2 separate regions of the Homo sapiens genome follow, and region 2 is linked to region 1. Evidence: promoter capture Hi-C in human tissues and cell types (Jung and others, 2019). All regions are on one chromosome and are shown on one strand. The core of a region is centred on a gene start or on the middle of the fragment in contact, and the rest is flanking DNA. Distances in the headings are between cores, read along the strand shown. Region 1 holds the start of GPR87 (G protein-coupled receptor 87). Region 2 has its middle 8.4 kb from the start of IGSF10.

What was found. The method cuts DNA at HindIII sites, captures the fragments that hold promoters and counts their contacts. A contact is called where the count stands out against the background at its distance.
Region 2: a fragment that was not itself captured here is called in contact with the fragment with the promoter of GPR87 in region 1 in 2 of the 25 tissues and cell types used here (H1 embryonic stem cells and adrenal gland).

What each region holds. Positions count from the first base shown.
Region 1 is chr3:151,315,140-151,322,338 of GRCh38, reverse strand. GPR87 (G protein-coupled receptor 87) reads left to right here and starts at 5,519. Exons shown (of 3, transcript NM_023915.4): 1 at 5,519-5,753. All of the region lies in intron 16 of MED12L (mediator complex subunit 12L), which reads right to left. RefSeq lists an enhancer at 4,934-6,133. The HindIII fragment of the contact is 9,815 bases long and covers 1-7,199 here.
Region 2 is chr3:151,466,035-151,472,972 of GRCh38, reverse strand. It overlaps a transcript of IGSF10 not described here. Among named protein-coding and RNA genes, the nearest start is that of IGSF10, 8.4 kb to the right of the region's middle. The HindIII fragment of the contact is 5,439 bases long and covers 2,872-6,938 here.

The DNA of each region.
Region 1 (7,199 bases), core at 4,270-6,769:
TGGCATGCACCTGTAGTCCCAGCAACTCGGGAGGCAAAAGTGTGAGAATCACTTGAGTCCAGGAGGTTGAGGTTGCAGTGGGCCATGATCACACCACTGCACTCCAGCCTGGATGACAGAGCAAGACCCTGCCTCAAAAGACTTCCAGGGAGAAACAAATCAGCTTTTATATTAGTTAGGCTTTTCCCAGGGATTTCTATGAACATGTAGAATAATTCCTTTCTATGCTATGATGTGCATAGTGAACATGTTCCATGTGAAATAGCTAACAGAGAAGTACAAATCAAACAGTTGGGTGCAACCACACAGGCCAGAGAACTCAGCCTTGGTCAGAAACTGGGTGTATCAATATTTTCAATATCCATGTAACCCGGGTTTCTGCTTCCTTGCCTCCATTCTCATTCTAATATGAAGTCCTTATAGAAAAAAATAAGATGGGAAGAAAGGAAGTCAGAGGAAAGGAGAGATGGGGACACTAAGAGAAAATGGTAGGAATGGAAGTTGAGACAATTGGGGGGAGTGATAAAAGGGAAAGAAAAAGGCAAGATAATATGAAAGAGAAAGGAAATTAAATTTAAGACTTAAGGAAGTAAACTAGTTCTTTAAAAATTACATAACTTACTCAGCATGTGAACTTTTGCCACTCTTGTAATACAACTCAAACTGACAAATATAACATCCTGAGGCATAATAACAGAATGTCCACCTTTATTTTTGAACTTCAGTTTAAACGTTAAATGTGTGTATATGACTTTACTTACTGGTGTTGATCTTAATTGTATCTAATGTATTTCTGAAGGCTTTCATAGCTTTGGGTTTTTTAAAAAAAATATTAGCTTTATGTATTGACTTTATATCATATATACACATAATGTCACTGGTCTTTAAGTCTTTTTTTATTCTATTTAACTGTACAACTGAGTTTCCTAAGTCCAAAAATGCCCAAACTGTGAATGAATGAAGCTTTATCCTGAACACAGTAACCCTACTGAGACGACCTCCCTTCTCTCCCCATATATTCTAACCTCAGCTTTTATAGATTCCCACAATTTCAGATAGTCTGGAATAAAGAAGTCCAAACTTCCTTCTTTACAGGAGAAAAAAACTGTCAAAAAAGATTATAAAAAGCATTTCAAGCAATCATCAGTTTGTCACTAATAGGAAACCAGAAGCTTTCTAAAAGCAACCAAAATTATGGATGTACCTTAACTTCTAAGCTGAGGCATATCATTCCAACTCCACCATGCATCAGACACCCCATTCATTCGCTTGCTCTCCCTTCACCTTCTGACAAAAGACAAAGTGCTCCTGTACCCTTAAATGCCAACCAAGTTCCAAACACTGTGGAACTACACTGTATATATTTATCCTGAATAGATTACCTCATTTAAGCTTTACAACCCTACATGGCAGGCATTGCCATGCTCATTTTCAGAAGAAGATATGCTTTGCCCAAAGTAAAAAAAGCTGCTAAGTGGAGATGTTCCAAATTGGAGTTTACCTGACCCCAATCACTAGTCTTGTCACAGCCGGACACTGCCTCTCGCACAAGCAAGATTTACAAAGCAAGGAGATAGATTAAGTTGCCCAGCATAGGAAGGAGTATCAGTAAAAGGACAACAGTCAGAGATGCAGCCTTATCTCCAGACTCAATCTCCAAACCATCCCCCTTCCCTTTAATCAAATGAAGTTCTCATACCAGAAAAAGGTGTTTCGTGTAAAGCAGACCTGATAGATACAAATAATTTCAAATGACAGATTAAACACAGTAATTCAAGCATAGGGACCCAATGATACCAATCTTGTCAAAGGACTGACTATTAAAGGGCTTATAATAATTATACTCAGCACAAGTTCTCAGCTACTGGATGTGAGCCACAATTAGAAAGACTTGTGTACAGAGATGGAACAGTAAGACTTGGGCAAAGGTTTTACTATAATCCTTGTTGCATGTTCCAGCCACATGGAAAAGACCAACACGGGCATTCAAGAGAGATCACCTTGAGCTATGTTGCAATTAGATCCCTGCTTGTCTTTGTTTTGTAATAACAAGTTAGTGTACTATAAAGGACTATGACGCCCTTTATATGTGCATTTTCCTTAAGAAGAAACAGATACATCTGAGATTAGTGATACAGAAAAATGAGATTATAACACAAATACTATGCCTACCAACACTGGGAGGAAACACTGTCCCCAGGTCCACACCAATGCAGAAAAGCCAAAGAAAGAAGGGAGGAAAAAGTCATATGCCATGGAGAAACCACTAGAAACCAAGGTAAGCCTTGGTAATACATTTGCTCAATGTCTCATATCAAAAACATGAGAAAACAGAATAAAGAGTTCATTTCAGGACTGAGAAAGGCTTATGAGTAATCTTACCTATTTTAATTCCTTCGAAGATGTGACACTTTTTCTCCTTGAGCGCCCCTGTCTCTTTAAGAATATATTTTGAAAAATCAGTAAGATTACGGGAATCCTCATTTGAATTTCTGTGACTAAACCAAATATGTTTGGTTTAGTTTGTTGCCAGTTTGTTGTATTTTGAGTAAAGAGTTATGCTATGCAGATTTTGCCATTTTTCATGATGATTCATAAATAATAAATGAGGTACTGCTCATAATCTGACATTTTACTGTCGTCAGTAAATATGTTGGAGTGGGGAAGAGTATATGTGAAAAACAGTAACAATTTATAAATCTAGATGAAATCTAGTTGAACAATTCTTTCAATTTGTTTGTAGTCTTAATACCTTTAAAAATAATGTTAGAAGGAAAAAAATCACCCTAGTATAAAAACAAAACAAAATTTTTTAAAGTTTTCTGGTGGCCGACACACACACACACACACACACACACACACACACACACGCACACACACACACACACCTGGATGTTCTGTATTTAAAATAAATTTGGGGTTTGTAATGGCTAAACAAAATTAATAAAAGAGTGCCCTGCATTTAACAGGATTTTCCAATGAAGTGGAAAGGAAATTATCGCTATGAAGATTCCCGGGGCTTTTATGAAATGTGAGACTTGCTATAAAAACCAGCAGGAAAAAAATTATGCTGGTTTACCTTTCGATTATGTGAACAATAATAAAGCTATGGGCTGGCTGTTAGCTGCTCTTTGCATCAAAGTGTTACACTTTTTTCATGACTAAACATGTATTACTTCCCTTTTGGAATGTTAGGTAAGACCAGCTTTCACAAGTCCCAACTTGAGACTGGCATAATATACTTTAAGACTAACGCATAAAGGCTGCCTTGCGTTAACTTTTTTGTTACTATACTAAATTTGCGCTGCCAGCCAACGAAACACTGAAACACTCCAAGCCAGCTGTTAGGCTACCGTCCCGGGCACGTTGCTTACAGAGGTATTGGGAAAGGAAAAAGTGCATCCTATCCCAAGCCCACTTCAGGAGAAAAAGGGGGCCACCTACTGTAGTGAAGGGACATCACCTTATTTCCTACTTAACACCATCACACATAAAGTTAAAGATGCTTCATTATACAGGAAAATTTCATAGGCCCCTCACAAGCCCTTCTTCGCACTTAGAAGGGCCTATGATAACCCTTTCACAGTAGGGCCCTCTCTTTTTTTTAAAAGGTCTTTATTCTTATAACAGAAGCCTGTCAAATATCTGTCAGAATAAGCTCCCTACTAAGATTTTATACACATCACTGGAAATTTGGGGTGATAATCCTCAGTACTTGCAGCAAAGTTCTTTGCACAACATACTTTTATGGGGGCCATAAGAGATGCTTCTCCCTTTGACTGATGCCTTTAGTACTTAACAGTTAGTTGTTCTGGCAGTAAAATGTCAAATTATGAGCAGTACCTCATTTATTATTTATGAATCATCATGAAAAAATGGCAAAAAGGTCAACACAAGGACAAATCTCCCAAACTAAAGTCTGCATAGCATAACCCTTCTGCTCAAAATACAACAAACTGGTTTCAAAAAAAAAAAAAGAAGAAAAGAAAAGAAACTGGCTTCAAATGCTAAATCAATGGGGAAGTATAAAATAGCACAGAGAGAGTCAAAACTAAATGAAGGATTGTTTGTAAATCTGCAAATTCTTAAAAGATTAGGCCATTATTAAGTTGGCTAATTGTTATTCAAACACCTTCCCCAGGACTAGCTACTTTTCCGTAACATACTTAATCCACCCAAAGCAGAATGTAAAAAAAAAAAAAATTAAAATTGTAGGTGTCTGTTTTTGTATGGTTAGGAAGCAGATAGGAAAATACAAAAAATATAATTTTGATACCCAACTCTTGATTTTTAAGTTAAACACCCATTTGTTTTTCTGTAAAAACATAAGGAAAATCAACTAGTACGTACACATTATTTCCTTAAGACACAAGTAAACACTAAGTAATACCTATTATAGATTTATTCACTCCAAAAAAGTTTTCACCTTTGATTATTTTCATTTATCTTCATCCACAATAACAGGTTTTGATTCCATTTGATGAAATTTTATTTTTTTAAATGTATTTAAATGTTGCATTCAAGAAAATATCAGAATCTTTGAGATTCTCATCTGAAAGCAAGAAAATTATTTACAAATCAGAAAAAGTGGCCGGGCGCAGTGGCTCACACATGTAATCCCAGCACTTTGGGAGGCTGAGGCGGGCGGATCATGAGGTCAGGAGTTCAGGACCAGCCTGGCCAACATAGAGAAACCCCGTCTCTACTAAAAATACAAAAAATTAGCCGGGTGTAGTCGTGGGCACCTGTAATCCTACCTACTCAGGAGGCTGAGGCAGGAGAATCACTTGAATCCGGGAGGTGGAGGTTGCAGCAAGCTGAGATCATGCCACTGCATACCAGCCCGGGCAACAGTGTGAGACTCCGTCTCACAAAAAAAAAAAAAAAAAAAAAAAAAAAAAAGTGATATGATTATATAAATTTGTCATTGTTGGATGCTTTTTTAAAGCAATAAAATAAATTGTTTTATGTTAAAGGTCAGCATTCAAAGGAGTCAGTGAACCCAGCCCCTGAATAATTTAACATATTTTGAATACTTATCATTGTGTATGTGTAAAAATATGTCTATTGTGTATGTGTAAAAATATGTCTACAGATTTCATTAGTTTCATAAGACTACAAGTTTCCAAAGTTATCAATTACAACAATACTCTTTAAATAATATGTAGAATAATATTTTCAAAGAATTCATCTGTCATAAAGCATATTCTTATTTCTTTTAATCCAAAATTTAATTGGCAGGAAGGCTGCAAATACATGTTTTCTAGATAGCAATAGGAGGCTGGAAAAAAAAAATGACCTAAAAATTGGATCTGATGAGTTAGTAGGCCCCAACCCGAGACTTCATCCCCCACTCCTTAAGCAGACTTCTGGCAGTCTAAGCTCCAGCCCTCTGTGTTTCCTTCAGGTGAATCACCATCTGATTCCTGCAGGTTCAGGAAATACTCTTCCCCAGTCGACAAATCTCACCTACTCTTAGTTATGAGTCATTTACATTAGCAAGAGAGCAAGTTGTTCCAGTAGTCGCCTGGCAGGAGAATTTGAAAGGGTGCCCCAAAGGACAATCTCTAAAGGGGTAAGGGAGATACCTACCTTGTCTGGTAGGGGAGATGTTTCGTTTTCATGCTTTACCAGAAAATCCACTTCCCTGCCGACCTTAGTTTCAAAGCTTATTCTTAATTAGAGACAAGAAACCTGTTTCAACTTGAAGACACCGTATGAGGTGAATGGACAGCCAGCCACCACAATGAAAGGTAAACGAAAAATTTTTCATTTTCTTAAAAGCCGTGGTTGATAAGACACAGCAATGATTAAAAACTGTAATTATACTTCTGCTTAACTCTGAGGTTTGAAGAAAAACTAGAAATTAGAATGCTGACAGTAAGATATGAGGCACCACTGTGAGCCATGAAGCTTCAACTGTTTCCAGCTCAGGCAGGCAGAAATATAAACTACATATTGTGCCTTCAAAAGTAGAAACAATGTTTTGGCAATCACTCCTATTTAGTACATTTTTTTTTAAACCACATTTACTTTATTAGATGAGTAAAAGTCAAAGTCTCTTATAATTGTTTCCCAGGACCCAAAACTTAAAATTTGTTTCATAATCGTTTATCCGTATTGTTTTTTTTTAAAGAGAGAGACAAAGATTTTTCTCTTTCCCAACTGTCTCATTTTGATAAAATAATCTCAGTCTTTTCATTGTACCACAAAGAACAGGGCAATCCTCATTCTGATCCCTGGAGAAGTCATGTTAAAACATGTCAGGAAAGGCACTGAGAAAACTGCCCAGTGACTGACAAACAGGTTAGGAACAGCTTACTGTTGTTCCACATTCAAACTGTTTGGGAAGTTTTCACTGCAATGAGGAAAACAAGAAGCAAGCATGGAGATCTCAGTTCTTTTAAATTTTAATAAGGACTTTTAAAAGATAGATGAGCCTAAAGTAGAGTGACTTTTTGATTTCTTATTTTAAGATTTATCTGCTATGGAATTTTACATCACATTCTCAAGTTGAATCTGCTTTTATTTTAGGTATATTAACATTTTTAACAAGAGATTTCTTTCATAATTGTTCTCCAATTTACTAGCAATATGAACAGCAACAAATCTGGTTCTATATTACTTTATACTGGGGGGAAAAAAGCCAGACACCCTGTTGATATTTATTATTTCTGCCAATTGAGATTAACTGTCTCCATGAAGTTAGGGATCAAAGAGGCATATTCTCTTAATCCTTCAGCAACATCTCATCCTCAGACTCTTGTTTCTGACCTCTACTTGAAATGTGTTGCAGGTATACATGGGTTAAGGACAAGGGCCTAGAAGAGCAGATGGATGGCTGAATTTCATATTTAAGGATACAGCCTATAAAAAGAAAGTATCCCGCCAGAAAATCTTTATTTCATGAAGACACTGAGAAAATGCCCTAACCAGAGATAACATGCTAAGAGGATTTACTGCATTCAGAGATGTGGGTGGGAAAAGGAAGACTAAGTTAAAAGGAATGTTCTTATTTAGAGTTGTGCTGTTTGTGCTCTTCAGAGTCTGCCTGCTTTTCTTCCTTAATATCTTGGCATTTAACTCTCTTTAAGAACCACAACAACAAAATATTTCACGCTTAGCTCTTTACTCTGAGAAAATACCAAGGAAAGTTAAGATAGAGGAGACCACAATGGCCATTAGTTCCTTGTATGCTC
Region 2 (6,938 bases), core at 4,342-6,841, 150 kb before region 1:
CAGAAGGGGTCCTTTTGAGTTGTGAGACGTGGACCCAAGGTTCAAGGCCCTGAAGCTTCACTGCAGTGTGGGTGGTGAGAACTTGGTAAGGTCCCTTCCAACAAGGTTCAAAAATAGTCTTCCTCTGATATTGTTTCCAGAAGACCCAGTCTCCAGGTTCTAAACCATGGGGAGGGTCTGATTGTCCTCAGTTAGTGGATCTCAAAAAGTTTCCTTTACCTGGCAAAAGTATACTTTGGCATAATGCATTAAAGCCTTGCAGTACTTAGTTATATCAGAATTTAAGAGAGCAGGAGAAGCATGAGGCCTTCCAGTGACTATTTCATAAGGGGTCAACTTATGTTTTCCAATAAAAGTGGATCTGATTGCCATTAAAGCCAAAGGTAGTACCTTTGGCCAAGGCAACCCAATTGATTCAGTTAACTTTGCCAACTGCAGTTTTAATATGACGTTTGTTCTTTCAACCTTTTCAGAAGAGTGAGGGTGGTAGGGACAATGGTAATGCCGCTGCATTGGTAGCACCTTATTTAACTGCTTTATAACTTGCCCAATAAAATGAGTTCCTCTATCACTGGAAGATTTTTCCAGGGATCCCCCAAAAAAGGAAAAAGATTTTCTAATTTCTTATCACAGCATCAGCTTTACTACATTGGAAGGCCTCTATCCAACCAGAAAACATGCAAACTATTGCAAGAATATACTGATATCCCATTGAGGGTGACAGTTGAATGAAGTCTATCTGTAAATGCTAAAATACTCCATCAGGTGGTAGACATATATTACCTGAAACTTTGATTGTTTTTCCAGGATTATTGCTTTGACAAGTCAAACACTGGTTATAAACCATTTTAGCAGTTTTGGAAGTCACCCCACCAGTATTTTTTTCATAATTGGATCATTTTGTCTGTTCCATGATGAGTTGTGGAGTGCAGAGCTTTCAACAATGGAAGCTTCAAAGACTCAGGAAGCACCAGGCAGCTATCTGGGCTATGAGTCTGCACTTTACATTAAATTTACATCCTTTTAGATACCAATTTTGTTTTTCCAAATGAGATGCATTGCATTGTTTATTAAATAAGTCGTCGTAAGGAAGCTGGCTTGGATTAATCTTATGTAGTTCATTCAGATTGCATATCTTAACAGTTTCAGCACTACCTGATTCAGCATAAACATCTGCTAAAGCATTATCCTGACTTTCAAGTTCAGTTCTACAAGTATGAGCTTCAATCTTAACAACAGCAACCTGCAATAGTAAAAGGATAGCAGAAAAGAGTTCATCTACTTTGAGTCAATTTTTGATGGGGGTTCCACTAGATGTGAAAAACCCTCATAGTTTCTATATCATTCCAAAATCATGTAGTATTCCAAAAGCGCATCTGCTATCTGTATAAATATTTACTGACTTGTCCTTAGCTATATGACAAACTCAGGTGAGGGCAAAAAGCTCTGCAGGTTGGGCCAACTTAAATTGAGGAAGAGTTCCCTTCTCTATTAACTCATTTTGGGTAGTAACAGTGTATCTTGCCTGAAATTTTCCTTCTGAGTTTCTGACATAGGATCCATCAATAAAAAAGTATTAATTCAGGATTATCCAGTGGAGTGTCTTAGAAATCAACATGAAGGGCCACTATTTCTGACACTACAAGTATTATTCTGTTCTCACTGCTAATAAAGACATACCTGAGACTGGGCCATTTATGAAGGAAAGAGGTTTTTAATTAACTCACAGTTCCACATGGCTGGGGAAGCAGAAGGTGAATGAGTAGCAAAGTAACGTCTTACATGGTGGCAGACGAGAGCATGTGCAGGAGAATTCCCCTTTATAAAACCATCAGATCTCATGAGGCTTATTCACTATCATGAGAACAGCATGGAAAAGACCCACCCCCATGATTCAATAATCCCCACAGGGATTATTACAATTCAAGGTGCGATTTCGGTGGGGACACAGAGCTAAATCATATCATTACACTTACACAATTGTGGTCTTCACCATCATTGGGCAGAGATAACAGTATCAGGGTTAAGTAGATTACAGTGTTTTAGATGAAGATTAGAAGGAGATAGGAGAAGTAATTCATAAGATGTTAGTCTGCTTACTGAAAAATGCGGGTTTGGTTGGAATTTAATAGACTTTACACAGCGTGTGGGATTTGCAAATTAAGTTCATTTCCTAAAACAAGATCTGATGAAGTTTCTACCAGTTTGGCCACTGCTGCTGCTGCTTTTAGTCAATTAGGATATGCCTTAGTGACTGGGTATAATTGCAGGCTATAGTATGCAATGGGCCTATGTTCACCACCATGTTCTTGAGCAAGGACTCCTAATGCCTGATTGTTACACTCATGAACAAACAAGGTGAAAGGTTTAGTGTAATTTGGAAGTCCTAAAGATGAGGGCTGTTGTAAGGTCAACTTTATTTGGCCAACAGCCTGCTCATGACTGTCTTCCCAAGGTAAAGGCTCTGGTATAGCATTATTAGTGAGCTCATACAATGGTGAAGCTATTAAGGAAAAAATTGGAACTCAGAATCTGCAACATCCTGCAAGTCCAAGAAAACTTCTTAATTGTCTTTTGGTTGCAGGTCAAGGAAAACTTTGAATAGCTGTTATCCTCTTAGTTGAGAGGGAAATTCCTTCAGCAGCCAAGTCACATCCCAAATGGTGGACTTTTTGCCTTGAAAACTTAAGTTTTTCCACTGAAGCCTTGTGACCTTTGTATGAAAGTTGCTGTAAAAGGTAAACTGAGTCCATTACAGAGCACTCCTTAGTGGGACAGCATATATTCATCTATGTACTGAATGAGAGTAGAATTTTGAGGCAACTGTAGTGTCATTAAGTCTTGATGCAATGCCTGGGAAAAATAGAAAGGGCTTTGGTAAATCCTTGTGGCATTACAGGCCAAGTGTACTGCTGATTTTACCAAGTAAAGGCAAACTAGTATTGACTCTCTTTATAAACTGGAATGCTAAAGAAGGCTGAGCAGAGATCTATTATTGTGAACACTTGGAATCAGTGGGTACATTAGATAATAAAATATTAGAATTTGGGACTACGGGAAATCTTGGTATTACAATTTTATTATTGCCTGTAAATCTTGAACAAATCTTCAACCTCATCCTTTTGGCTTTTTAACTGCTAGGATTGGAGTGTTACAAGGGCTCCTGCATGGGAGTATGAGTCCTTGTTTAATTAAATCTTCTACAATTGGTTAGAGCTCTTGAATTGCTTCAGATTTTAGTGGATATTGGGGTAATTTAGGCAAAGGTTTAGGATGATCTATTTGGACTTTCATAGGTTGCACACTTTTAATTCTTCCTATATCAGTTGGGGAAGAGGCCCATAAACATTCAAGTATTTTTGAGAGATCAGGGGTATTACAGGCCTGAGTTTCTATCTTATCAATTTATTTCTGTAGACAGCATAACAATTCTGCTTCAGGAGAATCAGGAAACTCTGAAGAAGGTTTACATGCCCTTTTAACTTGAAAGTAAATCTCACCCTAACAAGTTTACTGGAGCAGCATCACATAGTACAAAAGTATATTTTTCTGAAAAGGGCCCCAATGTTAATTGGATGGGTTCAGATACAGGAATGTCTTGAACTTGATTTGAAACCCCCACCACAGAATGTAAATTATTTCAGCCATTGTGGAAGACTGTGGCAATTCCTCAAAAACCTAGAAACAGAAATACCATTTGACCCAGTAAACCCATTACTGGGTATATACCCAAAGGAATGTAAATCATTCTATTATAAAGATACATGCATGCATATGTTCATTGCAGCACTATTCACGATAGCAAAGACATGGAATCAACCCAAATGCCCAACAATGATAGAATGAATAAAGAAACTGTGGTAAGTATACACCATGAAATACTATGCAGCTATAAAAAAGAAATGAAATCATATCCTTTGCAGGGACATGGGTGGAGCTGGAAGCCATTATCCTCAGCAAACTAATGCAGGAAGAGAAAACCAAACACCATATGTTCTCATTTATAAGTGGGAGCTGAACAATGAGAACACATGGACACAGGGAGGGGAACAACATACACTGGGGCCTAGGCAGCAGGGCAGGGGGAGGGAGAGCATCAGGATAAATAGCTAATGGGTGCAGGACTTAATACCTAGGTGATGGGTTGATAGGTGCAGCAAACCACCATGACACACATTTACCTATGTAACCTGCACGTCCTGTACATGTATCCTGGAACGTAAAATAAATTTTAAAAATACAAACAACCCTCACAAAAATGACCCTTTTTACTTCTAGGGATTTACTGGCTTATTAAAGTGGGGTTTATGGTAGATAGAATAGCTCCAGTATTCATCGGGACTGTACACGACTCCCCATTTATTTTAACCTGTTTCTCCATGTTCATTTAAAGGTATTACGGGAGCAATTTAGTAGAGAATCCCTGGGAGCCCCGTCAATGCCATTATCAGGAGGGCTAAGGTCTCTTGGGCTCCCTCTAGTGGAGAAACAGTTCAGCCTAAAGGGAGGCTTATTGGCAGACCTCTTACATAAAAGCGGTCAATCCCTTTTCCAATGCCCTGGTTGTTTGCAATAAAGGCAGATATCTTGGGGTAAAGAATTTCTTGTTCTAGGATCTCTCGGTTGTGATTTAAAATGAGAATGAGAAAGGTCCCTTTGGTCGCAGCCCCTGTAGCCATTGTAACTGAAGGGTCAGCTTGTTAGCTTTTTGAGCTTTTTCTTGCTCTAGAGTCCTCTCAAAATGTTCAGCTAAAGCCACCAATTCAGTCATATCTGTAACTTCCCATCCAAGCTTATGTTTTTTAATTAAACTTCTAAGTTCAGGACGGAGTCCATTTATAATAGAGCAGTTAATGCTATTTCAGTCCCTGCAGGAAATACTCCTTGCCGTACTTTAAGCCCAGAATGTTTCACAAACAATGTCTCTAAGCGAGTTCTGTAATCTCAAACTGGTTCATCCTTTTGTTTTTGTTTACAAGATTGTATGACAGACTAATCAACTTTTTGCAGAAAAATATTAGAAATTGAATGTAAAATGTTTTCAGCCATTTTTCTTTCTTTTTTTCTTTTTTCTTTTTTCTTTTTTTTTTTGAGATGGAGTCTCGCTGTCGCCCAGGCTGGAATGCAGTGGCACGATCTCGGCTCACTGCAGGCTCTGACCCCGGGGTTCACGCCATTCTCCTGCCTCAGCCTCCCGAGTAGCTGGGACTACAGGTGCCCGCCACCTCGCCCGGCTAATTTTTTGTATTTTTAGTAGAGACGGGGTTTCACTGCGTTAGCCAGGACGGTCTCGATCTCCTGACCTCGTGATCCACCCACCTCGGCCTCCCAAAGTGCTGGGATTACAGGCGTGAGCCACCGCGCCCGGCTCAGCCATTTTTCTAGCTACTTTTGGTCCTTCTCATGAGGAGCTTTTGGAGGGGTCTTTAATACCCTCCTCAGGTTTGTCCCATTCTGCTACTGCCATCCATTCTTGAGCTTCATCAGGCCCTAATATCATGTGAATAAATTGGTAAAGGTCAGGAAGCCCTGGCTTGTAAGCTCCTATTAGGATTCTAAATTCCTCAGTAAATTTTTGAGATTTTCCCTTGAATAAGGGAAGTCCTTCACAAAACTTTAAGCTCAGTTTTAGACCATGGAGTGAAAGTAGTTATAGCAGACAGGCCTGGCTGATCAGGTCTTACTTTGTAAGGCATCTAACTTCCTCTTTTTCATCATCTTCAGGGTGAAAGGGTAATTTAGCAAAAAGGTTAGTGGACTCAGTATATAGGCAGAAATGGATAAAGAGAAGAAACAGTCGAAGTTAGTTCAGTCAGAGCACAGCCCTCTTTTGTCATGTCCTTGGTCTGGTGCCTAAGCTTTCCATTTGCTTTTTGCAAAGAATCTTTCAAGGAGTTAATTTTTGATTCATTTAGTCTTTTGGAGACCTCTGCATACCAATGAAAGACTATGTCCCACTGTTTCTGTGGGACATAGTCTTTTTCCAATATGCCTCACAAATACACAATTTTTTCCAAATTATAACTTCCTCATTTCGACCATCTTAAGTTCTCTTTAGTGGGGTTAACCCATTTTTCTAAAAATGCACACGTTGAGCCAGGCATAATGGCTCACTACTGTAATCCTAGCCCTTTAGGAGGCCGAGGCGGGTGGATCACCTGAGGTCAGGAGTTCAAGACTAGCCTGACCAACATGGTGAAACCCTGTCTCTACTAAAAATACAAAAATTAGCTGGGCATGGTGGCAGGTGCCTGTAGTCCCAGCTACTCGGGAGGCGAAGGCAGGAGAATCATTTGAACCCAGGAGGTGGAGGCTGCAATGAGCTGAGATTGTGCCATTGCACTCCAGCCTGGGAGACAGAGTGAGACTCTATCTCGAACAAACAAAACAAAACAAAACAAAACAAAAACACGTGCTGGGCCCATAATTTTTATACATAAAATTAGCTGGAGTTCCAGAAGGTGGAGTCCCAGACTCCTTGGACTGAGATAATTCCATTATTAAAAATAAAGTACCTACCCAAGGTCCAAGGCCTCTAATTGAATTCAATCCAGTTAATTATCAAATCCAATTTGATCTTAGACTCGGTGCAGTCTAAGTATTGCTCAAGTAAACTCAGAGACCCCAAAACACAAGTTACTGGAGTTCAGAATCTGAGAGAAAACTCACCCATGACCTCCATTTACAATCAAGAGAACAGTGAGCACAATGGGCTCAGCGGGTACCTCGCCTGGTCACCTGGTATTTCTGGGGGTCGCCAGAGTTTTACTTTGAATCCCACTTCTGATGCCAGATCTGTTAAAACTTCAGACAAATTAAATTTGACAAAGTTTAATTGAACAAGGAAAAAAACGATTCATGAATTGGACATCCTCCAGAAATACCGCAGATTCAGAGAGACTACAGGGATGCCTCGTGGTCAGAAAAAATTTATAGAC